4 separate regions of the Homo sapiens genome follow, and all the other regions are linked to region 4. The links are contacts of gene promoters, found by promoter capture Hi-C in blood cells and fetal thymus (Javierre and others, 2016). All regions are on one chromosome and are shown on one strand. The core of a region is centred on a gene start or on the middle of the fragment in contact, and the rest is flanking DNA. Distances in the headings are between cores, read along the strand shown.

Region 1 (6,349 bases), core at 3,379-5,878, 220 kb after region 4:
GCAGCTGGAAGAAAAAGTCTTTAATATGCAACAGAGACATCTGCCTGCATTCTAAATAATTACATTTCCACCCATCCCCCCATCAACATTCTAATAGCTTAGATGCTTAGATTTCTTAAGAAAACAAGTTCTAGAAAGTCATTTTAATATAGAAACTAACTGAAGAGGTTTGGGGAGCAGACTGGGAAACAATATTAAGAATCTATGTTTTATTTAGTCACCCTCTTTTACTTCTTTTTTTTTTTTTTTTTTTTTTTTTTGTTTGAGAGAGAGTCTCACTCCATCGCCCGGGCTGGAGTGCAGGGGCGTGATCTCGGTTCACGGCAACCTCCATGTCCTGGGTTCAACTAATTCTCTTGCCTCAGCCTCCTGAGTAGCTGGGACTACAGGTGTGTACCGTCACACCTGGCTATTTTTTGTATTTTTAGTACAGACAGCATTTTGCCATGTTGGCCAGGCTGGTCTCAAACTCCTGACCTCAGGTCATCCACCCACCGTGGCCTCCCAAAGTGCTGGGGTTACAGTTGTGAGCCACCACGCCTAGCCCATTTTACTTCTTTTTACAAAAATATAGGCTGAGGCCAGGTACGGTGGCTCACGCCTGGAATCCCAGCACTTTGGGAGGAGGCTGAGGTGGGAGGACTGCTTGAGGCCAGGAGTTTGAGACCAGCCTGGGCAACATAGTGAGACCCCATCTCTACAAAAAAAAAAATAGAAAAGTTAGCCGGGTGTGGTGGCGCATGCCTGTAGTCCCAGCTACTTGGGAGGCTGAGGCAGGAGGATCACCTGAGCCTGGGAGGTCAAGGCTGCAGTGAACCATGATCACACCACTGCACCCCAGCCTGGGTGACGGAGCAAGACCCTGTCTCAAAAAAAAAAAAAAACGAGAAACCCCAAACCCCCCAACATTGTGAATATACTTAATGCCGCTAAAAATTGTGCCTTTAAATATGGTGAAAATGATAAACTTTATGTTACATGTATTTTGCGCCTCCCTCAACATGCACATACGTAACGAGCTTCTTGGTAGAAGGGGTTTTTCTATTCATGCTGTCGGCTAAGAAAATATTTCTAGGGAGTTAAAAGTCCCTAAAACCACACTTACCACATGGCCTGGACAGACACAGGCTTAAATATGTGCATCCTTCCTGCTGTGCTCACGCTGAACCCACTGAGAATAAAACACAGAGAGAAAGGTATCTGTGGTGAGAAATCAGCGCCTTGAGTGAAATCACTCTGGGAGGAGGGAGCCAAACCACTGCGCACGCTGGGAACAAGCACATCTCAGGCCACATGATGAGGGATTTTACGGAACCCGCTTTCGCAGAGACATGGGCAAGGGCAGAAAGAGACACATTCCCAGATGAGGAGGGCTTGTTTTTAACCCAGCACTGCGAGTTCCACCAAAAACTGAAACCCTAGCAAAGGGTGCCAGGTGAAGGCCTCCGAGAGCGTCTCTCTATGTTCCAACGTGGTTCCTGCCTCCCTGCCACCTCCTGTCCCACAGGCCCGGCCGTTCCTTTTTGTAATTGCATGGAAACTATATTCATAGGATTGCACGGAAAATAATCAATATATAAAAATATCTATTAATACATTAATATAAATATGTTAATATAAAATACTAATATAAAATATAAAAAATTAATACAAGCCAGGGGTGGTGGCTCACGCCTGTAATCCCAGCACTTTGGGAGGCCGAGGAGGGTGGATCACCTGAGGTCAAGAGTTTGAGACCAGCCTGGCCAACATGGTGAAACCCCGTCTTTACTAAAAATACAAAAATTAGCCAGGCATGGTGGCAGGTGCCTGTAATCCCAGCTATTCGGGAGGCTGAGGCAGGAGAATCACTTGAACCCAGGAAGTGGAGGTTGCAGTGAGCCGAGATCGTACCACTGCACTCCACCCAGGGTGACAGAGTGAGACTCCGTTGAAAAAAAGAGAAAAAAAAATTAATACAAAGATATTAAAATTAAAAAGGAAAAATATCCCCATAACCCCATCACTTAAACAACAAATCAAATTTTTATTTTTCTCTTCCCATCCTACAAGGCAACATAACTCTGACCTGCTTAGAATCCCCGTGTCAGGCCACTTTCCTATTCTGTTTCTTCCCACTCCTCACCGTGCCCACACACCTTCCTTGGGAGTGAACGCGTGCGGACGCTAGACGGCCCCTCATCCCCCGACTGCCTGCCCGGGTGGAACTGGTTCATTCCTCCTTTGTGGCCCCCAGGGTGGCGCTTGAAACCTTGTTGTGCCTGTCAGTTGTATGTCTCTCCTTGTACCCCCAAAGCTGGTGAGTTCCTGCTGCACCACATTAGTCCGTGAACTTTCAGGACAAGCCCCATGGAGGGCATGCGGTGAGAGTTCACTTAACCCATCGAGGTGGCGGATGGGTATCGGTTTACCGCTGTCTTGAACTTCACACAGCAGCATATCTCCTGTAATCACTCCCACTGATACTTCATGAGCTAAACTCCCCAATCAGACGTCCAAAACATACCCTCCCTCGTGCCCTCTCACTCGAGGGCAATATGATTTCTCCCGCTGTGACACTCCCGCCACACGTGTCATTCAGTGCTAATGATCATCCAAGGATGCCTGAACCAGCTCGTGTTTTCAATGCCTACTACATACAGTGAGAGAATCTTTTAAAGAGACCTCCTTACCCATCTCCATCAAGGTGGATTTTCGTGTCGCTCCACAGTCGGAGAACCATCCCAATGGTGCAGCTTTTACTGCGATGGGGGAGAGAAGACATGTGGAGTCAGCGTCTACCCACCTACGTGTACAGCCTTTCCAGCTCACCACCTGGTCCAGGACGGGCTGTTGGACGTACGTGTGGGAGTAGGCTGTCTGCATAGGAACCGTTCACTGATGAATTCTAGAAGACACAGGTCTGGGATGGCCCTGTGGACACAACTCCGTAAGTGCTCAGCTGAGGCTTTTGGGTGCAGTGTGGGCTGACCGCACGCCCACTCTACAGCAGGGAGGCAGCTGCCCAGGGCTGGTGCTCTGCTGGCGGAGGCCACATGTGTACTTGGGGGTACATAGGCAAGCACCGGCAGCCAAGCCCGGCCTGGCCTGTCCTGGGTGGCGGCAGGGGGAGCGTGCTCACACCGTTCCCGGAGCTCACTTTCAGACCTGTGCACCTGCGCCTTTAGTGTGGCTGCGGTTTTACAATCTCGCTTAATCTGGTTTTGTTTTGCCCATCCTACCAGTGAAATGAGACCGAATGACTGCAGAGACTGGCGCCACTGAAAAACAGAGGGAAAGAAAGGGCTTATCGGAGAGTCCTCAGATTATGATGAAAATTCTTCAGGCATTTAAAAGTCGACTTGTGAGAAGCCGCTGTAACCGTGCCAAGAGCCAGCTCTGTGGACCTCAGGAATCTCATGCTTCCATCTCTGCTGCTGCCAACACCACGGTCATGTTTTATGTGTGCCCGTGTGAATGGGGCCTCTGGGGATCACAGACCCAGCTCCCCTCCCAGGTAGCGCCCTGCCCCATGCAGGACTCTTCTCAACCCCATGCTTCTATATCTGTGGGGAAGGTTGTTCCAAGCCCTTCCGGCCAATGACACTCAGGCTTTTGGGTTGGGCAAATTCTCAGGTCCCTCCGTGCCATCCTACCCACTCTGGAGGGACTAACTAGTATTTCTCTTATAGCACTGAAAAATAAAATTTATTTTGGGCCTCACAGAGCTCTAGGGACCACGTGGCTGTGTCAGCCCCAGGAGGAGGCAAGGAAAGGGTCCCTATGGAGCCCAAATCCGACAGGCAGAAGCCAGGTCAGATGGTGCCCTGAGAACGTGCAGTCTAGAAGACCCAACCTGAGCCCTGACAACCCTCACCAGGAACTCATAAGGAGGTGGGTACAGCACAGAGAGCTGCAGAGAGCACAGGACGGGGGCAGGGCCAAGGCCAGGCCTAGGCCAGGGGCGGGGCCTTCCAGGGCAGGCGGAGGTCAAGGGGGCAGGGATGAGACTGCCCATGGGAAATAAGGGGCACATAAAACCATGTGGAACCTAAGCCCCTAGGCCGGCCTCCCTTGGACAGAGATGCGCAAGAGGCTCAGCCCACAGGGGACTTCTGCTCACGGCCTTCAACTAGAGCCAGGAGCATGGAACAGGGACCATACAGGACTGCAACAACTGCACGCATCTCCTATCATCCCCTAGCTGTTACTTTTGTGAGTTTCCAGCAGTCCTACAATGATTAACAATAAGATTTCTACAAGGAAGGAAGACCCATGGGAAGCATATTTTTCTTTTCTTTTTTTTTTTTTTTTGAGCCAGAGTCTTGCTCCGTTGCCCAGGCTGGAATACAGTGGTGTAATCACAGCTCACTGCAGCCTCGACCTCCAGGGCCTAATCAATCCTCCCACCTCAGCCTCCTGAGTAGCTAGGACCACAGGCACATGCCACTATGCCCAGCTTTTTAAAAAAAACTTTTTTGTACAGATAAGGCCCCACTATATTGCCCAGGCTGGTCTTAAACTCCTGGGCTCAAGCAGTCCTCTTGTCTCCACCTGGGGAGCATACATGGGAAGCAGGAAAGGGATACATAGTAAGGGAAGCTGAATCTTTTTAGAGGAAGAGTGACCCCAAAGGATAAAGTGGGTGGGAGCAATTGCAGAAGAAGAAAGCAGGCTCCAAGTTCCTAGGGCCTGTATGGCGGGAACAGAGAAGCCAGATGGGTCTGGAGGTCCAGGCAGGAGACCAGCCTGTTCCAAGACCCCATCGTGGAGTCCTTCACCAATGGCAAAACACTGATGTGTGGATGGTGGTGTACACTCATGGCATTCAAAATGTTCCCAATCCGAATCGAAAACATAATCCTGCTCGGGTGTGGTGGCTCATACCTGTAATCCCAGCACTTTGGGAGGTGGAGACAAGAGGACTGCTTGAGCCCAGGAGTTTGAGACCAGCCTGGGCAATAGTGATTTTTTTAAAAATTATATATAAAAAAAAATTAGCTGGGAATGGTGGCATGTGCCTGTGGCCTCGGCTACTCAGGGGGCTGAGGTAGGAGAAATGATTGATTCTGGGAGGTTGAGGCTGCAATGAGCCTTGATTTCACCACTCCAGCCTGGGTGACAGAGCGAGATCCTGTCTCCAAATTAAAAAAAAAAAAAAAAAAGGAAGGAAAGGGAAGGGGAGGGGAGGGGAGGGGAGGGGAAGGGAAGGGAAGGGGAAGGGAAGGTGAAAGGGAAGGGAAGCGAAGGGGAAGGGGATAGGGAAAACAGGAAAAGAAAGAAGAGAAGAGAATAGAATCCACGATTGAACCCTAAGGTGGCATGGCTGCTCTGGTCTTCCCAGGATGCGTATGCAGATATAAGACTCTGAGTGAGGCCGGGTACAGTGGCTCACGCCTGTAATCCCAGCACTATGGGAGGCCGAGGAGGGTGGATCACTTGAGGTCAGTAGTTCGAGACCAGCCTGGCTAACATGGTGAAACCCTGTCTCTACTAAAAATACAAAAACTTTCCAGGCATGGTGGTGCATGCCTGTAATCCCAGCTACTCAGGAGACTGAGGCAGGAGAATCGCTTGAACGCGGGAGGCAGAGGTTGCAGTGAGCCAAGATCGTGCCACTACACTCCAGCCTGGGTGATAGAGTGAGACCCCATCTTAAAAACAAAAACAAAAACTTTGAGAGTGCGCAAGCCTGCTGCAGGAGCCGCCATTCCAATGCTGCCTTCTGGAGAAGCGTTGGACTCTTATGAAGATGCCCTTTGGGGGTAATGCTTGTCTCTTCCTTTTTTTTTTTGGCAGGGGGAATAAAAAAATAAAATCCCAAGGAAGGAATTTAGAAAAAACAAGTACATTGCTCCCTCAGCAGGCCAAAGGCTTCTGGCGGGGACCTGGACTTTTTTTCAAGCCAGGAAGGAAGACAACAGCCTGGTGCCCGGGCAATGTGGGAGCTGCAGGAGAAGGCCCAGTTCCCAGCCCCCGGGATTCCCTGGGCACAGAAGGCAGCTGTGTCAGGCCCAGCGACAGGAAAGACTGCTTAGTTCCGGTTCCCATCAGGCCCCTGCTCATCTTGGGTGGCCTCTCAACCGCCCTCTCCAACCTCAGAGACCTGCCCTGGCCTTGGGGTCGGTGCCCACAGGTGGGCCGTGGCTCCTGCTCAGAGGGTGCAGAGACTCGAACTTGAGGGAAGAGCATGCAGGAGAGGCGAGGGAACCACAGGGAGAGGGACCTGGGAGAACTGAAGTCGGGGTGCCGAGGGGAGGCAAAGGGAGGAGAGGGTGGGAAGGAAGAGCGCCATGGGGGCGGTGCGGACGAGCGCACGGGCCAGTCTCCTCCAGCCAGGCAGCAGCGGAGTGGGATGCGCATGTGGGCA
Region 2 (6,187 bases), core at 2,374-4,873, 190 kb after region 4:
ATCTCACTGCAGGAAGGGGCAACTGTAGACATCCGGGAAGCATCCCGACAGTCCCGTTCCTTTCGGGGAAGCCGCTGAAATCTCCTTTCCCTTCCCTAGATGGGCCCTAGTGGACCTAAGCATCTGGGCTCTCAGCAGGACGATGTGTCTCAGAACCACCACCTGAGCCAGACACTTGAGCAATTTCAAACCTAAACACAATCATGTGTTTCAGCAGCAGACACTCAACAATGCAGGTGGGCCCTTCCCCTTGAGATTTAAACTTCAGCATTAGCAACAACTGAGAACAACCCATACATTTTCCCCACCGGACCCCTGTGCTGGTCAAACACGTAACAACACAACCAGGACAGGGCGCCTGCACCACCATTCGGGCACAGAGTCAGCTCAACAACAGCGTGGGACTACTCATCTGATGACTTTACTCAGCAGTGCTTGGGGCTGTCGGGTTAAAAGTCTTGACACGTCTGGGGTCCCAACCAAAACACAAAACGAAAAATTCTTTTTTTGGAAAAACGCTTTCAGACAGAGCATTATTCCCTGGAACAAGCCTTGGTCATTCGTGTGTTTTAAAAATAAAAAGCGCAGCGAGAACAGAGGTAGGACTTAATGTTGCCATCCGAGAGTTTTCTGCGAGGCCAAGAATGAGCTAGAACGTGTGCCGCGGTGAGGCTGCCACCACCAGGACTCTTCTGCAGGATGCGAAGGGAACAGTCTGGATGTGTGCGCCTATGTGTGCACGTTCTTCCTAAAACATGGTTCTTCTTGAAGACACGGTGGGAGCGGAGTTTTGTGTCTCCTGGCCGGCGGCTCCTGGTTCTCCCAGGCCACACGACTGACAGCTCCCCTTCTTGTGCTGCATGTTGGTTAGTTTCTTCTCCTCCTCTCTATGGCAAGAGTAGGGGAAAAGTTAGGATGACTTCACTCGTTTAAGGGAAATCAAGATGTAAGGGGTCGATCCAAATCCACAGTGAAAGTGAGGGAGGGATCATATGAAAATATCCGCCCAGCCTGACGCAGCAAAAGGCGGGTCAGCTTTTGCTCATCCACGAAGGGCTCTTTAAGTTTTCTGGGGCGGGTTTCCCTGATGGTTTGGAGGTTGCAGCTGGGTCCCTCGGGGTTCCCTGGGGCTCATGCAAGAAGGAAGATTCACTCAAAGTGGTGTCCTGGGAGTCAGCGACGGTGGACGGGTCAGCCTCACTGGACAGGTCTTCCGTTGAGAAGGTGAGACTCCCCAGCTTGGCAAGAGAGTGTGAGCGCTTCAGTGGGGAAGAGACGGTGAGGCCCGCCAGCCGGAGCCGGGTCTCAATCTCCTGTGTCCGCTGCTTCACCAGCCCGGGCTTCCCACGGACACTGTGGATGCTATCGCTGCTGGAGCTCCGGGTCAGGTTGGAGCTCATGGAAGAGGAGGTGGGGGTGTAGCAGATGGTCTTCAGAAAGTCTTTTGAGAAACTACTGGTGTGGTCCAGGCGGTAGAAGAAAGGAGGGGGGCTCTTCAGTGAGCCTCCTTCCAATGAAGCGGGGGCGGCCTCTGACTTCTCATCACTCCCGGCCTGGCTGGGCATAACCAGGGGGCCCAGCTCGTGGAGCGCGGCTGGATCCTGGCTCTCCTCGGGGATGCTGGCCTCCAGCCTGCTGGCAGGGCCATCCCTGGAGGGAGGTGCTGGGTCTGCAGGCACGCTCTTCAGCCGCTCTAGCTCTTTGGTGTGCTTGCGGACCAAGCCTGCCTTCTGCAGCTGAATGATGGACTCCTGGTGCTGCATCAGGTAGCTGTTGGTTGTCGGCTTCTCAGATTCATTACTGAACAGAAGCCTCAGGTCCTTGGCTGGCTTCATATCTTTCTTGGGTGACGATTCTTCCTTTATTACCACTTCTGTGCTGGGAGGGTTCTTATCACAGTGAGAATTCTTCAAAAGGAGGGACTTTGGCAGGACTTTTGGGGTCTCTCTGGAAGGTTCCAAAAGGCTGGCTGGTGGCTCTAGGGCAGCTCCAGCCCCAGGGCCACTGGTGTCTGCCCTCCTGGAGCCTGCTGGTGGTAGGAACGGGGGAGGTTCGGTTGGGCCAGAGGCTGGCTTCTCCGGAACACGGGACCTGCTGGCCAAGTGGGCCACAGGGGAGGACGTGATGTGGGGTAGGAAGGCTGGCTGGGTGCAGATGGCGGGAGCATTGGGGTCCTCACATCGCTCCCTGGAGGCCTCAGGAGCCCCGCTGGCTGTAGGGTACATGCAGTCGGCACAGGATTTATAGGAAGGCTTCACTTTGTTAAGGATCCCAAATATAGCATCATCCTGCAAGGAAGGGGACAAGAGCATGGTGAGACGGTGCAGTCATGAGCCAAAGACCAAAAACATGAGGGTGGGCAGGGAAAGGGGTGCGAGGCCGGACTGGGGGCCAGGCCTGGAGGGGAGGCTCTCATTTCACTTAATACTGACAGACAGACCTCCTGGAGCCCACTTGATCGAGAATAACCACTGGCCTGAGGTGGATTTTATACCCCAATAGAAAACAAGTTTACATTGTTTCCTAAGGAAACCCTCCTGCCTTTTGGTCAGTGAGGATCTAAGTGAACGTGACACATGCCTCTGTGTCCCCACCCTTCACTTCCTTACAGGCCAACTGACAGGTACCCAGTGGTCCTGGGAATGGACTAGAAAGCTGTGTGAAGAGTCCCAGGGGAGAGAGGGACAAGTTCTAAGTCTCCGCGGAGGGAAGGCTTCCCAGAGGAACTGACACTTCAGCTGAGGCTTCTGGGACAAGCAGGTGTTGACCAGCCAGAGAGAGCAGCATGCAGGTCCAGAAGCAAAGCAGGAAGGAGGAGGGCACCCCCCTACCCCACCCCGCCTGCACAGGACTGTAGGCTGGAGGGCAGGACAAGGCAGGAGGGCAACAGGGCTCTGTCTCTCTCTCTTTCAAACAGATAAGAGACAAGGTCCTACTATGTTGCCCAGGCTGGTCTCGAACTCCTGGGCTCAAGTGTTCCTCCTGCCTCGGCCTCCCAAAGTGCTAGGATTACAGGTGTGAGCGACTACACCCCGCCAGCTCTGTCTCTCAACACCTCCTTATGTCCTTGCCCCATCCTCTGAGCCACTGTGATCCCAGCATCCCAACTTCCCCTCTTACCCCAGCAGCCTGCCTGTAGACCACAGCCAGAGGGGGCTCATCACCCACCTGCTTAAAGGCCCCGCCATGGCTTCCAGTTTTTTTTTTTTTTTAAATGAAGTTTCGCTCTTGTTGCCCAGGGTGGAGTGCAATTGCGTGATCTTGTCTCACTGCAACCTCTGCCTCCCAGGTTCAAGCAATTCTCCTGCCTCAGCCTCCTGAGTAGCTGGGATTACAGGCATGCACCACCACAGCCAGCTAATTTAATATTTTTAGTAGAGATGTGGTTTCACCATGTTGGTCAGACTGGTCTCAAACTCCTGACCTCAGATGATCTGCCCGCCTCAGCCTCTCAAAGTGCTGGGATTACAGGCGTGCGGCACCATGCCCAGCTAATTTTGTATTTTTAGTAGAGACAGGGTTTCACCATGTTGGTCATGCTGGTCTCAAACTCCTGACCTCAGATGATCTGCCTGCCTTGGCCTCCAAAAGTGCTGGGATTATAAGCGTGAGCCACTGCACCTGGCCCAGGGTTTTATCTCATCTGTCTTTATGGGTATTTGCTTTGTGGTAGGCAGGGAAGTGGGGGAAATCCATAATTAGTATTTGATTTGGAATGCTTTATGGAGGTCGACAGATGCAACTGCCCAGTTTTGTTTGCATTATAACATGCTGTTAATAATAATAAACTGGCTGTATACTTGAATGCATCTGTCAGGACCCCAAGTGCCCCCACTTGAGAACCACGGCTGTCCTGTGAGATGGGCAGGTGAAGCCAGAGGCAACAAAGTCAGCAGCAGGGCAAGGGTGGAAGTGGAGACCAGGCTGCACGGCCACCCTTCCACTGAACCAGCCTCTGCTCCTGCATCACTTCCCCCATGGAGGAGGGAAAAGGTTGGCTGGAATTAACCAATTTCTCAGTAAGCACCAGGTTGAAGCTCAAACCTTGTGGCAGATAATCCACTAAAAATGGCAACTCCAAGAGACTAATGGAGTTAAGTATTAGAGTCTAAGTTGGAAGGCTGGATACTTGACAACGTTGGGAAATTACTATCAGTTTTGTTTTTGTTTTTAGACGGAGTCTCGCTCTGTCACCCAGGCTGGAGTGCAGTGGCACGAACTTGACTCACTGCAACCTCTGCCTCCTGGGTTCAAGCAATTCTCGTGCCTCAGCCTCCTGAGTAGCTGGGATTACAGGCATGCACCATCACACCCAGCTAATTTTTATATTTTTAGTAGAGACAGGGTTTCACCATGTTGGTCAGGATAGTTTCCATCTCCTGACCTCCTGATCTGCCTGCCTCGGCTTCCCAAAATGCTGGGATTACAGATGTGAGCTACCGCGTCTGGCCCTATCAGTTTTTTTAAAAGGTGACAATGGTATTGTGGCTATGTTAACATACTGGAGCATTTATGAATAAAATGATATATCTGAGGCCAAGCGTGGTGACTCAAACCTGTAATTCCAGCACTTTGGGAAGCCAAGGTGGGCAGATGGCTTGAGACCAGGCTGGGCAACAGTAAGACCTCATCTCTACAAAAAAATAGAAAAGATTAACCGGGTGTGGTAGCATGCGCCTGTGGTCCCAGCTACTCAGGAGGCTGAGGTAGGAGGATCACTTGAGCCTGGGAGGTCAAGGCTGCAGTGAACCGTGATCATGCCACTGTACTCCAGCATGGGAAACAGTGAGAACTTGTCTATAGTATGTATCTATCTATATCTACAGTATATACCTATAATATATATTTTTTAGATACAGGTATCTATATCTAAATCTGGGATTGGTTCCAGGATCATCAGGGGTGTGGGGAAGTGGGTGGTAGGGGTGAGATGAAAAAGAATAGTCATATATCGATAAAGGCTGAAGTTGGCTGATAAATTATATGTTTTAATTTTACATACACAAAAAGAAATTGAGTTGGAAGCCCTGCCCAGGGTATGAATAAGGTACATGGGGTGAAGATGGTGTGCAGAGATATGTGTTATTCCCAACAGATTCTCAATTTGCTATATAAGGTATGCACTACGTACCCACCAGCAGAATCACCCTGTGAAAGAACCCTCAGGTCCCTGGAGATGGGAGCTGGGGGCCCAGAGGAGACAATAGAAAAAAATCAGCTGGGTGTGGTGGCGGGTGCCTGTAGTCCCTACTACAGAGGCTGAGGTAGGCCAATTAGAGTGGGATGGAAGGGATGGGGTGTGCCACCCTGCAGGCCGGGCTCTGCCTACCTCCATGCCGTTGGGACAGCTCCTCTTGCTGTTGTTGTTTAGGTTCTCCGAGTTGAGCAGGTTTTGATCGAGCTGGGTTGGAAGCTGCCCCCACCTCCCTGCTCCCAGGCCCTCCTCCCTTTCCGTCTCCTCCACCTGCAGCAAGGAGCCGCTCCGACCTTTGGGACTCCCAAACTCTAGTTTCTTCTTCACATCCTTCTCACAGAGTCCGGAACCTTGCTGGGGCTGTCTGGCCGGCCTGTGCACCTCTGCAGGTGGAGCAGCTTCCTCCAACAGAGCCTCCCTCTCCGGATCCTCCAGGTGGACCAAGCTGCCAGTTTCATCCTCAGGGGAAGGCAGAAGGGGGTCTGAGAGTCGCCGGAAACAGCAGGGGAGGGGGGGCCCTAAGCCGGGCTGGGCGGCATCATCCAAGAAGGGCAGCTGGCTTTCCGGGGTGCCATCTGGGGTCTCTGGCAAGAAGTCGCCAGGTCCTGCAGGGTCATCCACAGGCTGCTGGAGGCTGCTGTCTGTCTGCTGACGCCACAGCTTGTTGTGCCGCTGTTTGCTGCGGGGAGAGAGGGTAGAGGAAGGTGAGGGGAGGAGGATGGTGCCTGGGGGTGCTGGGAAGAGTATGCGGTGAGCCAGTGAGGGGCTGCCCAAGGTCAGGGCGCCAGGGACGATCCATGGCTCATTCAGGTAAAGCCTCTCTCTGTTCATTTGTTCCCAAGAAACACAAGGATGAGAAACAGCACTGGCTCCTAAGTTGTCCAGGCTCGCACAGGAAGCCTGATGTGACTTTCTGCCTCTGATGACAACGGGGAAGGAACGCGGGGGCGTCTAGACTTCAATCTGTGTATCTGTGTTTAGTGATGCCTCATT
Region 3 (6,214 bases), core at 302-2,801, 230 kb after region 4:
GAAAGAGAGAGAAGGAACCATTCAAGCAAACAGAACTCCAGGAAGACGAGACTGTGCCGGGGTTCTTCCATCTGCCCAAGTAGAAATCAGAAGGGCAGGGGACCCACAGCCTTATCCTACCCACCACTGCCGTCATAGTTGGGGGACAGGACACATCCTTTGGCCCTTCTGCACTGCATAGAGGCTAAGGAGTTCTGTAAACCACACAGCCACGCTGACCAAGAAGTCGCTTTCAAGGTAAGTTTCTCATCAACAGGACTATTATTTACTGAGGATCTCCCATGTGGCCAAGGCTGTAGGAGGTACTTAGCTACGCCACGTCATTGAACTCTGGCAGTTCTGCAGGGTAAGGTATTTTCTCCATATGACAAACGAAGGAAGCCCGTCAACAATTCCAAAATAGAATCACCAGGGATAGCATGGACAACGCCCATGGTGACTGCCGCGCTTTAAGGTTTAAGAAAAGTAAAAACTGGGGGTGATGACTCATTCCTGTAATCCCAGCACTTTGGGAGGCTGAGATGGGTGGATCATTTGAGGTCAGGAGTTCGAGACTAGCATGGTCAACATGGCAAAACCCTGTCTCTACTAAAAATACAAAAATTAGCCAGGTGTGGTGGTGCATGCCTGTAATCCCAGCTACTCAGGAGGCTGAGGCAGAGAATCACTTGAACCCAGGAGGCGGAGGTTGCAGTGAGCCAAGATCGCACCACTGTACTCCAGCCTGGGCGACAAAGTGAGACACTGTCTTGGGCAGGGGCGGTGGGGAACAAAAGTAAAAACAATGGTCTGGGAATTCATATTTCTGGGTTCCAATTTACATTCTACCATATATACTCTGATTAACCCCTAGAATTAACCCCTAGAATTCCTTACAGGGTTCTGTTCATTCATCCAAACAGGCAAACATTTGCAGAGCATGGAGCACAGGGTAAGCCAAGCCAGCCCAAGCTCTGATAAGGGCAAAGACAGCCATCCTCTTTAAGGAATGGGTATATGTGCTGGTGATCTGGGTGTCTGCCCTGCTGCATAGAAACAGCATTTCTTGAAGAACAAAAATAGTAGGTATAGAAACATCACAGTATGGAATATCCAAACACCCCTGAATTCCAACTCTGGTCATACATTGAAACAACCTATCAAACTCCTAAAACACATTCATGCCCAGGTCCAGCCTCAGCAGAGTCTAATTCGGAAGGTCTGTGATGAGTCCTGGGCATCTACTTTTTTAAAAAGTTCCAGGGAGCTGGGCATGGTAGCTCATGCCTGTAATCACAGCACTTTGGGAGGTCAAAGTGGGAGAATCAGTTGACCCCTGGAGTTCAAGATTAACCTGGGCAACGTAACAAGATCCCATCTCTACAAAAAAATAAAAATAAAATTAGCTAGGCTTGGTGGTGTGTGCCTGTAGTCCCAGCTGCTCAGGAGGCTGAGGTGGGAGAATCACTTGAGCCTGGTGAGGTCAAGGCTACAGTGAGCTGTGACCACACCACTGCACTCCAACCTGGGAGACAGATCTTGTCTCCAGAAAGTTCCAGGGGGTGCTTCTGATGCACAGCCAAGTTTTAAAAACCTCAGAATCAAATAACATCATGGCCAGGCATGGTGGCTCACGCCTGTAATCCTGGCACTTTGGGAGGCCAAGGTGGGTGGATCACTTGAGGTCAGGAGTTCAAGACCAGCCTGGAAAACATGGTGAAACCCAGTCTTTACTAAAAATACAAAAATTAGCTGAGCGTGGTGACGCACACTTGTAGTCCCAGCTTCTTGGGAAGCTGAGGCACGAGAATCACTTGTACCCTGGAGGTCGAGGCTGCACTGAGTGGAGATTGTGATCCTGGAGTCCCCACTGCACTCCAGCCTGGATGAGAGTGAGACTGTCTCAAAAACAAACACACAAACAAACAACATCAGAAGACACAGAGAAAACAGTCTTCTCCATGGGCTTCATAAAGATACCTCTCACATAGGTACACGTCGATGTTTTCTGCTGGTAAAAGGTAACACCAACAAAAAGGCATGGTGCTCTCAGAAGGTGGGTGATGTGATTAGGTGCAATAAAGGGAGGTCATGCTAGGGTCAAAAACAAAATAATACTCTCTTTGGAAGCAGTAAAACAGATGCTAGTCTTCTACTACACACTTTCAGAGACCTGAATGTTCTTCTGGCCCTCTAAGGGAGACGCTGCATCATGACAATACGAAATGATGACAGTGAAAGCAAAAACAGATCAGACCTGTGCTGTGTGAAACAGACATGGGGTCTCGCTATGTTGCCCAGGCTGGTCTCCAACTCCTGAGCTCAAGCGATTGTTCCGCCTTGGCCTCCCAAAGTGCTGGGGTGACAGCTGTGAGCCACCGAGACCAACCTCAGATCAGACCTTTGACAAACTCTGCTGTGGACAAAGCATTCTGGTGAATGTCAACTCATCTGATCTTCACAAAACCGTGTGGAAGACCAGACAGGCATTATTACACTAATTTATGCCTAAGGAAACAGGGAGTTAAATAGTACAAATTTAGGATTTCTGATGCTGTATCTCGAAAAAAAAGTAGAGAATATGAGCCTGAAGAAGAGGCCCTGTAAAGGGTCCCAGATTGATGGGACAGGCTGAGACAAACGGAATCACTTTTCCCTGGATAGAACTAACCCTCAATGGTACCCCACTCTGCATGGTGATTACTGAGGGGACTGTCAATTGTCCAGCGAACTTGATGGTAATTCTAGGAGAAAAAGGAACTAATGTAATGCTGTCAGCATAGAAAGATGGGTGCCAACGAGCATTCCAAAAAGGAGGCTCTGTTAATTCGGTTTCGATCAACAAGTATTTGCTGAGTGTCTATTGTGTCCGGTCAGTGCTAAGGCCTGAGAATTTAGAAGTGAAACAGACCCGGTTTCCACCCATGCCACAGACCACTCCACACCTGGTCTGGAGTGACACTGGAGGGCCAGGCAGGCACAGGACAGTAACTTCGATATAAGGCAGCAAGTTCCACGGTGGAAGGAGGTGGAAGGTGCAGATGCACGTACACACAGGGGTTCAGGGAGGCCTCCCTGGAAGAAATGAAGCCTGCGAGGCCCTGAAGGATCAGTAAACAGAGAGGCATAAGGGGCAGGAGAGTAAGATGATTATGCTACATGTACCTTATTGTGAACCCAGGAGGATTTGGCCTCTGTCATAAAAGGCCCCCCTGTGGGTTCATAAACCTCAATTTACAAATTGTGCTTTATATATCAGTTCCTTATAAGTTTGGTTAGCGTAAATTGGTTTCTTAGAACTTGATCATCCCTGAGTGAACTCACAAATTCAAGTTTCAGAATGTGCAAACCTAAGAAACAAACCTCATGCTTGTGGTTGAGACATCGCACTGTCAACATCACAAATTCTCAGCACCTGAATGCCTGGTATACTATCAACATATATTGTTTTAAATATGTAAATAATAGCTTTCTAGTTATAGAGAGTTTGTCCCTACATTTTTCCACTTAATTTTTACAATCCCATTCCCCTGATGAAACAACCCCAGCCTGGGCAACATGGCAAAATCCTGCCTCTACAAAAAATACAAAAATTAGCTGGGTGTGGTGGCGTGCACCTGCAGTCCCGGGTATTTGGGAGGCTGAAGTGGGAGAATCACTTGAGCCCGGGAGGCAGAGGTTGCAGTGAGCCAAGATTGTACCGCTGCACTCCAGCCTGGGAGACAGAGGGAGACTCTGTCCCACCCACCCCCGCCTCCCAAAAGAAAAGAAAAGAAAGAAAAGAAAATGAAACCACCAAGACTGGGAGAAGATAAATGACTTGTCTGTGGTCATCTGGCTAATAAGAGGTAGAATGGGGCTGAAAAAGTTCGGTGCTCTTCCTGAAGAATCCATAGGTCAGAAAGCAGCACCATCTGACCTGCAGCAATAGCAGCAACGTGGAAAGCTAATCAACTGACCTCAAAACCACTCTCAGTGAGGCTCTGGATGGATTCAGAACCCCAGGCCTAGCAAAGTGAAGTTGATAAAGATGTAAAGGAGATCGAAAATTCACCATTTGGAGAGAGATTAGCTAAAGACTGCAGGTCGGATGGAAAATTCTTTCCATGGTTCTCCCACAGGTTCTTCCCTCATTTGGAACTCGTGTTTAAAAGTCACAAAGACCCTGAGTTGGGCCAAGGTCTCGTTCTTCTTCACTGTGGGCCTTGCAGTGCAACATGGCAGGGCCTCGTTCCAAATGTCACTCTTCAGAGCCTAAGAAAACAAGTAACTTTAGGGACACACCTGTCAACCGGAGCTCCCAAATTGTACCCCCCTAAACACATAATGCTGAGCATAGAAAAATTCCAGCTCTGCAGAGCGTTATACTTAGGGAAAGGGGTCACAGACAAGGAATGCTGGCAGGGCTCATTACAAATATCTTTGCTGCTGGAACATGTATTGTTTGGCTAGAAGGCGTAGGCTTCTCTCAGAGAGAAGGAATGTCCAAAAGTATTTCAGACAGTAAGAGACATTCTCTGAGCCAGCTACACAGCTCTCCTTCAAACCAACGGGTAGCGGCAAGCAGCTGAACTGACCAGCGAGCTCGCAAAAGCAAGCTTTTTTTTTTTTTTCTCCCTAAATAAGACAGCAAGTGATGTGTCTTGGCTTGGTTTAGCAAATTTTAAGATAGTTCCCTGATGACCCCAAGAGCCCTCAGGCCCCATGGAAGCTGGAGCTAATGCATCTTCCTCCAAGCATCATCTGCTCTACCAGGATCTAAGCCCCTTCACGAGGGCAGAAGGTATAAAGGCTGCACTGTGCGGGAAATGCTATGGCAGCAAAGACAGCCAAACACGCCAGAAATAACAGGCACATGAAGGAAATGTTTCTGAGACAGCTCAAAAATTCCGAGAAGAGATTATCCCGACTGTCCCAGGTTCTCAGCCCTGTCTATGGTATGCAGCCCCATACCACAGTCATTTGTCACCGAGTCCTAACTTTGTCAGAGGCCCCTCCTTTCAGGTCTCTCAGGCACCACCCAGTTCTGGCCCTCCTCACCCCCGTGAGCCAGGCGACATCCAAGCAGCCCCACGGTGCACCCGGCTCTGTGCTGCATTCTCTGAATGTCCCTGAAGGCCAGGGCTGTTGTATTCTCTACCCACTCTCTGTCTAGTATGGGAGCCACTGGCCAGATGTGTTGACTGAACACTTAAGATGCAGTAAGTGTGACCAAGAAACTGGGTTTGTCATTTTATTTCATTTTAGTTAATTTAAATTTAAGTTTAATTAGCTACATGAGGCTATCAGCTGTGGTATAGGACAGCAGAGCTCCGGAAGCTTTTGGCCTGGTGAGAAGAATCAGGACAAGCGCCTCCCTGGCCTCTCGCCCACTCTGCACAGCCGCTAACCATTGCTCTCATGACATTCTTTCCCAGCCCCAGAACTTTTAGCCATGTGACATCATCTATTGATTAGAGTCCAAACTTCTTGTGCTAACTCTCTATGGGTTGCCACAATTAGCCATTGTATGTCGTTAACCTAAATTTCATTCATCTGCTATGTCCTGACCTTAGGGGCTTAGAATATAGTTAGAAAACAGTATTTCAGAATAAAAAACCATTCTTGTATTACCTCTCGCACTATTCCCCCTGTTCTCCATGCTTCGCATTCTCTGTTCTATCCCCAGCTATAGCACTGTCCCCATAAAGCCTACTGTGGTTCTCGGCTCATGGTGTCCTTCCTCCCATCTGCCTCCCGACGTCATGCCTGTCTTCCAGTGTTTATGCCTTCTCCAGGAAGCTTTCTCTTGTGGCCCTCGCTGTGAGCTATAGCTCCTCCCTTTCAACATCTTCTAGCACCTCCTCTTACTGTGCAGGTGAGGACACTGAGGCTTAAGGGTTAAGTCACTTGCTCAAGGTCACATACAGTCGGTCCTCTGTATCCGCGGGTTCCTCATCAGTGGATTCAACCAACTACAGACAGAAAATACAGTATTTGAGGGATGCTGAACTCTTTGAATTAGTGGGTTCTGCGGGTGCTTAAGCATCCATGGATTTTGTTATCCTCGGCAAAGGCGGGGGTCCTGAAACCAATCCCCTTGGATACTGAAGGAAAGACCACCCTTAGTGATAGGAACCTAGGAACCCAAGTTCCCTCATTTCCAAATCGTGTTCCCTGACCCACTTATTTACTAACTAGTGGTGAAGCCATCTTCCTGCCAGTATATTTTAACTTCACAATGGGATGTGAGGGC
Region 4 (6,171 bases), core at 678-3,177:
GGGTCTGGGGTAGCTGAATTCCTTCCCTAGCCGAACTCCAGGTTCAGCCAGCAATTTCCCACCCTGAGTCGACAAATGAGCACCATCGCCGGATGGGAACATGCGCTCACTGTCTGGTCCGGCCGCCACCCAGTGAAAGACCAACCTTTTCACCCCGTTCAGTGAAACCTCTTTAGCTCTGGCCGCCAAGGAATGCAGAACCAAACACACACATGCACACACATACACATACACACACATGCACACATACACCTACACACACATATACATACAACACACACACACACACACACACGAAGTCAGAGGCAGAGGGCAAGAAAGGAGAACACACAAACTGCCACTGGCTCTTTAAGGCTGAGACCCTGACTCTCAGAGTCCCCTGCACCCCACAACCCCTCCTGGCTTCCAGGGAAAGGTGGGGGCAACGTATGGAGGACCCAGCCCCACCTGCAGTCAGCAGAGCCTCAAAAAAGATGGTTGTGTGGCCCTGGACGGCCCCTGCCCTCTCTGGGCCTCAGTTTCCCATCTGTGGAATGAAGCACTGTTCTGGGCAGCTCTGAAGTCATTATTCTGCCTACCTCCCCCCGGACCCTAATTTTTTCAAGGACTCAGAATCTAACAGGCCATTAGGAGCTGGGGTCAGGCCCAACGCCTCTTGCTTCACCTTAGAGGTAACTCAGGTCCAGAGACTGGAAACAGCCTGCCCAGGTCACACAGAAAGTCAGGGGTGAGCCCAGCAGAGCCCTGGACAGAGAAGCCTGTCTTGGTATATCCCAGAGGAGGTCACTTCCCGGCTATGTGTCCTTGGGCTGGGCATGTCACCTCTCTGAGCCTCGGTTTCCATATCTGTACAATGGGGATAAGAGCCACCTCCCTGGACTGCTGTTAGGACAAGATGCGGCCATGCCTGGTGCACAGTGGGTGCCAATTAGCAGGTACCACGTGATTGCCCAGGACTCCCTGCCTGGGGACATGTCAGGCAGGGCTGGCCGTGTGTAAGTGTGGCAAATGCCCTAAGATGGTCCTGAGTCTGTGGAGGAGTGCAGATGCACCCCTGAGGCCTGGGGGCCCCAAGACTTGAAGCTAGGGGACCGGGGGCTGCCCCACCCCCACCCAGAGACTGGTGGCCTTTGGGGGAGGGGCGGCCCACGGAAACCTGGCTTCAATCAGTGGCCTTGTGGGGGAGGGGTGTTCTGGTTGGAGCACTGCACATGCCCCCGACCCCAGGGCCAGCCAAGGACAGGGACCTGGGCCCTGGAGGTCTGGATGGGGAGGGGGGTCCTGGGGGCACAATCCCCCTCCACACACACACACACACACAGAGCAGCATGGACACACAATATAAAGACACACAACACAGGCACACCGACTCACACAGCACTGAGACACCCAACAGCACTCTCATGGCCCATGCACACAATACACAGAGAACACACACGGACACACAACACATATACATACACAACCCCCTGACACACAGCCGATCCCTGCACACAGGACAATACCGTCCACATCACCCTCACACAGATCCTGGAAGCAACAGCCTGGCATCCACTTGCAGAAAAGTGGAAGCAACACACCCCCTACACCAAGGCCCCAGCCGCACACACACAACACTCCGGCCCACCCTGGCCCACCCCAGCACCGCACACGGGACTCAGATTCCACCACACTCATGCACACAACACCAAACACACACTCAAAGCCCACACACACTTAGAGAGGCCCCCCAGAGTGCTCCAACAGTCCCCAGTCCCTAAGCTCCAAGATAGCTCCAGGCTCTCAGGACAGAGGAGGGGACCCCAGGACTCACCAGTTCCTTGGCGTACAGGACTGGGTGCTCCCGCCGAATGGAGCGAGAGTGGGGGGCACCTGGGCTGGAAGAGAGAGTCCGTGCTGGTGCCCGGGGCTGCTCTGGGCTGGCGCCTGCCCGCCCTCCCTCCTCCCGTCCCTCCTCCCGTCCCTCCTCCTTCCTCCCTCCCCGGCTGGGCCGCAGGGCCAGCTTGATTTCATTAAGAGGGTTTGGGGTGGGGACAGGGGGAGGGGAGGGGCTACTCTCGGGCCACACGCAATCCCACCCTTGCTCACACTCTCGCTCTGGGGAAGACCAGATGCGGCACTTCCTCCCTGACCTCGGGTCCCCAGGGCAGGCTGAGACAGACAGACAAGGCTGTCCTGCAGCGCTCCCCCAGACAGTGAGCTGGGGTTCTGCCCACGCTGCTGCCCAATACCCTCCAAAGGGGACAAGCTCAGGGAGGTTCAGAGGCCTCTGGAAGTGGGAAGGAAAATTCCCCGTCCTTGTGTGGCTCAGGCTTCCAGGCTCAGGGTGCAGCGTGGGAGCTGGGATTCGTTTTAGAGACAGGCCTGATGGTGGGTCCGAGCCTGAGACAGGGAGCCCAACTCTGCCCTTCCCTCTCCAGACCTCAGTTTCCCATTTGTAGGGATGGGTGGGAAGCTTTCTGGGCTACCTCTGACTCTGATGTTCTGGGATCTGTGGCCTCACAATGCCCCCAAATGATAGTAGCTTGAATAGGAGTTGGAGCCCCATTTCACAGAGGGGGAAAGTGAGGCAGGGTGAGTTCTAATGGTTCAAGCAGGGTCCTGAGGTGAGTCAGTGGCAGGCCTTGGAACCGGGACGTCTGGCTGACCTGAGGAGTCCTGTGGATTAGCAGCCCCTTGCATTCATTCATTCATTCATTCATTCATGCATTCATTCGGCAAGTGCTCAATGAACACCTGCAGCAGGCCACGCACTGTGCTAAGCAAGTTCCAGAGGTGAATCAGGCACAGCCCAGCCTTGGGGAGCTCACAGACTACCAGGGAGAAGGACACCGAGGTAAATTACTTTTTTGCCAAACAGAAAGGGGTCAGGTCAAGGGCTCCGAGAACCCCAAGACAGAGAGATCAATCCCCCAAGGGAAAGAGGTAGGAAGCCATCCTGGAGGGCATGCCTGTGTATGAGCAGAAGCGGGCAAAGCAGGCCCTGGAAAGGCATTCCGCATGGAAGGACCAGCGTGGGTAAAGGTATGGTGGCTGGGAATGCCACCACGCACAAGCCACCGCAATTAGATTAGGCTGGAGCATGGACCAAAGAGAGGATCATGTAGTAAGGGTCAGAGATGTTGACAGGAGCCAGGCTAAAGTCTCGGAAGGTCGGAGGCAGTACGGAGCCAGTGAGGGTTTGGAACAGGGGAGTGCATGAAGGATGAGTGCGTGCTCTCTGGGTAGGAACCAAGCCTAGATTATCATTGTTCCCTGCAATGGTCCCAGCAGCCCTCGCTCACCCCCAGAAAACTGGGACAGTCATTTGCTTGGGAAATAAAATCAGAGACTTTCCCATCTTCTCTGGAAATCACCCCAAACCCTGCATCTTCGAGGGAACAGGGGACCATCCACCAATACTCGCACAGACACATTCATGCACACACATGTCCCAGGGGCAAGTGGCCACCCACAGACATGTTGTAGCAGCTGTGCCCGCTTTAAGGTGGCCAGGGGTGTTCCAGGCCTACCTGACCTGTCTTAGACCAGACATCGGGTGGTCAGGGGCAGCCAAACCTCCCCCAGGGCCCACCAGCAGGGGAAGAAGACCTTACCCAACATTCTGAGGGCTGCAGTCTGGGGACCTTGGGATGTCGAGGAGCAGGGACACAACCAACCCAAATAGAGCCTGCTCCCTGCACAGGTGGCCCCAGAGGCCCAGCCTGAGGGAAGCTCTCGGAGTCCCCTTCCCCTCGTTCTTTGCTTCTCCCTCCTGGGCAGAGCATCCCCCTGAAGGAGGGGTAGTAAGTGTTGGAGACATTGGCAGGAGCTGGGCTAAAGTATTGGAAGGTCACCTAGGAGGCAGTAGGGAGTCAATGAGGGTTTGGAGGGTTTGTTCTGGGATCTGTGGCCTCACAATGCCCCCAATGATAGTAGCTTGAATAGGCGTTGGAGCCCCATTTCACAGAGGGGGAAAGTGAGGCAGGTGAGTTCTAATGGTTCAAGCAGGGATCTGAGGTGAGTTAGTGGCAGGCCCTGGAACCAGGACATCTGGCTGACCTGAGGAGTCCCGTGGATTAGCAGCCCCTTACATTCATTCATTCATTCATTCATTCATTCATTCATCTAGCGAGAGGCAGACAGACCCACTTCAAATCCTGCCTCCACCATGTCCTGCCCCACATGGAGCCTCTGTTTCCTCCTCTGTAAAATGGAGATGGAGACTCCCTACTACTCGGAAGCTGGCAGGGGAAGGCAGAGGAGCTAGGGAGCATGCACGTGCTCAGCAATGTCAAAAGCACAGGCCAAGGCCAAGGGTATAGTTCCCTGTTGCTGCTGTAACAAATGACCACAGATTAGAGGCCAGAAGCCACTCACATTCATGCTCTTGCAGTTCTTTTGGTCAAGAGTCCCAAACGGGCCTCGTGAAGCTAAAAATCAAAGTGTCAACAGGGCTTGCGTTCATTCTGGAGTCTTGGGGGCGAATCTCTTTCTTTACCTTTTCAAGATTCTAGAAGCTGCTGGCATTCCTTGGCTCTTAGGCTTCTTCCTCCACCCTCCCGGCCAGTGGTAGCAGGCAGGGTCCTTTTCATACCACCATCTCTCTTCCGGTTCCCTTTCCCACGTTGAAGGCCCCTAGTGTTGACGTTGGCCCCACCCTGAGGATCCAGGATAATCTCCCTGAGAGCCTTAATTAACCATATCGGCAAATCCCTTTTGCCAAATAAGGTGTGACACACTCAGCTGGGTGCAGTGGCTCACACCTGTAACCCTAGCTACTCAGGAGGCTGAGTGGGAGGATCACTTGAGGCTAGGAGTTCAAGACCAGCCTGGGCAATCTAGTGAGACCCTGTCTCTAAAAATTTTTTTTAATTAGCTGGGTGTGGCACATCCCTATGGTCCCAGCTACTTGGGAGGCTGAAGTGGGAGTATTGCTTGAGACCAGCAGTTCAAGGCTACAGTGAGCTATGATCATGACACTGCACTCCAGCCTGGGTGACAGAGCACGACCTCAAATCTTAAAAAAAAAAAAAAGGTAACATATTTCCAAGTTCCAGGGATTAGGCTGTGGGCATCTTCGTGGGGAGGGGCATTATTCTGCCTGCCACCCCAAGTTGAATATTACTATTACTGTCTCCCTATGGGTCTGGAATCATCCACCCACAAATCACTGGGTTTTGCTCCCCCAGCACTGTGCCTCAAATACAGCAGGCCCTTTATGTGCTTGTGGGGAAATGAATGAATGCAGGAAGCCCACTTGGTGGACACAGAAACTGCAGTTCATGCTGGAGCAACCTGCCCAGAATCAGTTAGCATGTTGGGAGGTCAGAGCCCTTTTTTTCTGCACTGGCCCCCGTGTCAGCAAATCTCGAAATGGGACCACCCCCCTCCCAAGGGGCCCGTTCCCGAAAATAGGGCTCCTACCTCCCTCTGTCCTGTTGAAGGGCTTTCCCACCATGTCAACACACCACACATCACACGCTACACACACACACACACACACACACACACACACACACACACACACACACACACACACAGGCTGTCCTTAAACTGAGCATCCCTACCCACAATCTGAGGACAGAACAATGACAATGTCAGTCACTGATCAGAGGCAAAAAAGGAGCCCCAAGTCCCAGCCCCAGCTCAGGCAAAGACTGTGGGCAACGGAGCAAATCACTGCCTTTCCCTGGGCTGTGGCTAAATGTGGGGTTAGACTAGATGCTTGGCACAAGCCTGCCAGCCCTAAGACTCCAATTCTCTGGTACTCTAAATTTCATTCCTTCTATAAATATTTCTTTTTTTATGTCAATATATTTTAAACTTTTTTTTTTTTTGAGACAATGTCTCACTCTGCCACCCAGGCTGCAGTGCAGTGGCACAATCACAGGTCACTGTGGCCTCGACCTCCTGGGCTCAGGCGATCCTCCCACCTCAGCCTCCCAGGTAGCTGGGATTTACAGGCATGAGCCACTGCACCCAGCCAATGTATTTTTAAATTTCTAAAAAAAAATTTATGGACACATAATAGTTGTACATATGTATACAAATATTTCTTTTGACCTTAATTGCACACAGGCCAAGGTCAGGCCCTGGGAGGCAGTGATGGACAAACAGAGACACAGAGTTTACAGAGTAGCGGGGAAACTTGCAATGAGCAAGTAAACAAACAAATGAATATCTAACTGC

Evidence for each region. The method cuts DNA at HindIII sites, captures the fragments that hold promoters and counts their contacts. A CHiCAGO score of 5 or more calls a contact.
Region 1: a contact is called between a fragment that was not itself captured here and the fragment with the promoter of TMEM119 in region 4, in 7 of 17 cell types (naive B cells, total CD8 T cells, total B cells and 4 more). The highest score is 7.2, in naive B cells.
Region 2: a contact is called between a fragment that was not itself captured here and the fragment with the promoter of TMEM119 in region 4, in 1 of 17 cell types (total B cells). The highest score is 5.7, in total B cells.
Region 3: a fragment that was not itself captured here is called in contact with the fragment with the promoter of TMEM119 in region 4 in 2 of 17 cell types (total B cells and naive CD4 T cells); the score reaches 5.3 in total B cells.

Annotation. Positions count from the first base shown.
Region 1 is chr12:108,808,588-108,814,936 of GRCh38, forward strand. SSH1 (slingshot protein phosphatase 1) reads right to left here. Exons shown (of 15, transcript NM_018984.4): 6 at 2,673-2,741; 7 at 1,106-1,171. LOC101929204 (a long non-coding RNA gene) reads left to right here. Exons shown (of 4, transcript XR_945329.3): 2 at 2,711-2,929; 3 at 3,225-3,873; 4 at 5,779-6,349. Among named protein-coding and RNA genes, the nearest start is that of MIR619, 25 kb to the right of the region's middle. RefSeq lists an enhancer at 5,604-6,207. The HindIII fragment of the contact is 9,269 bases long and covers 1-6,349 here.
Region 2 is chr12:108,786,957-108,793,143 of GRCh38, forward strand. It overlaps SSH1 (slingshot protein phosphatase 1), which reads right to left. Exons shown (of 15, transcript NM_018984.4): 14 at 5,330-5,873; 15 at 1-2,288. The coding sequence ends at 1,032. Among named protein-coding and RNA genes, the nearest start is that of MIR619, 47 kb to the right of the region's middle. RefSeq lists an enhancer at 5,208-5,708. The HindIII fragment of the contact is 8,442 bases long and covers 1-6,187 here.
Region 3 is chr12:108,828,576-108,834,789 of GRCh38, forward strand. All of the region lies in intron 2 of SSH1 (slingshot protein phosphatase 1), which reads right to left. Among named protein-coding and RNA genes, the nearest start is that of MIR619, 5.3 kb to the right of the region's middle. RefSeq lists an enhancer at 3,108-3,217. The HindIII fragment of the contact is 6,047 bases long and covers 1-4,575 here.
Region 4 is chr12:108,596,157-108,602,327 of GRCh38, forward strand. It overlaps TMEM119 (transmembrane protein 119), which reads right to left and starts at 1,928. Exons shown (of 2, transcript NM_181724.3): 1 at 1,814-1,928. The HindIII fragment of the contact is 3,678 bases long and covers 1-2,453 here.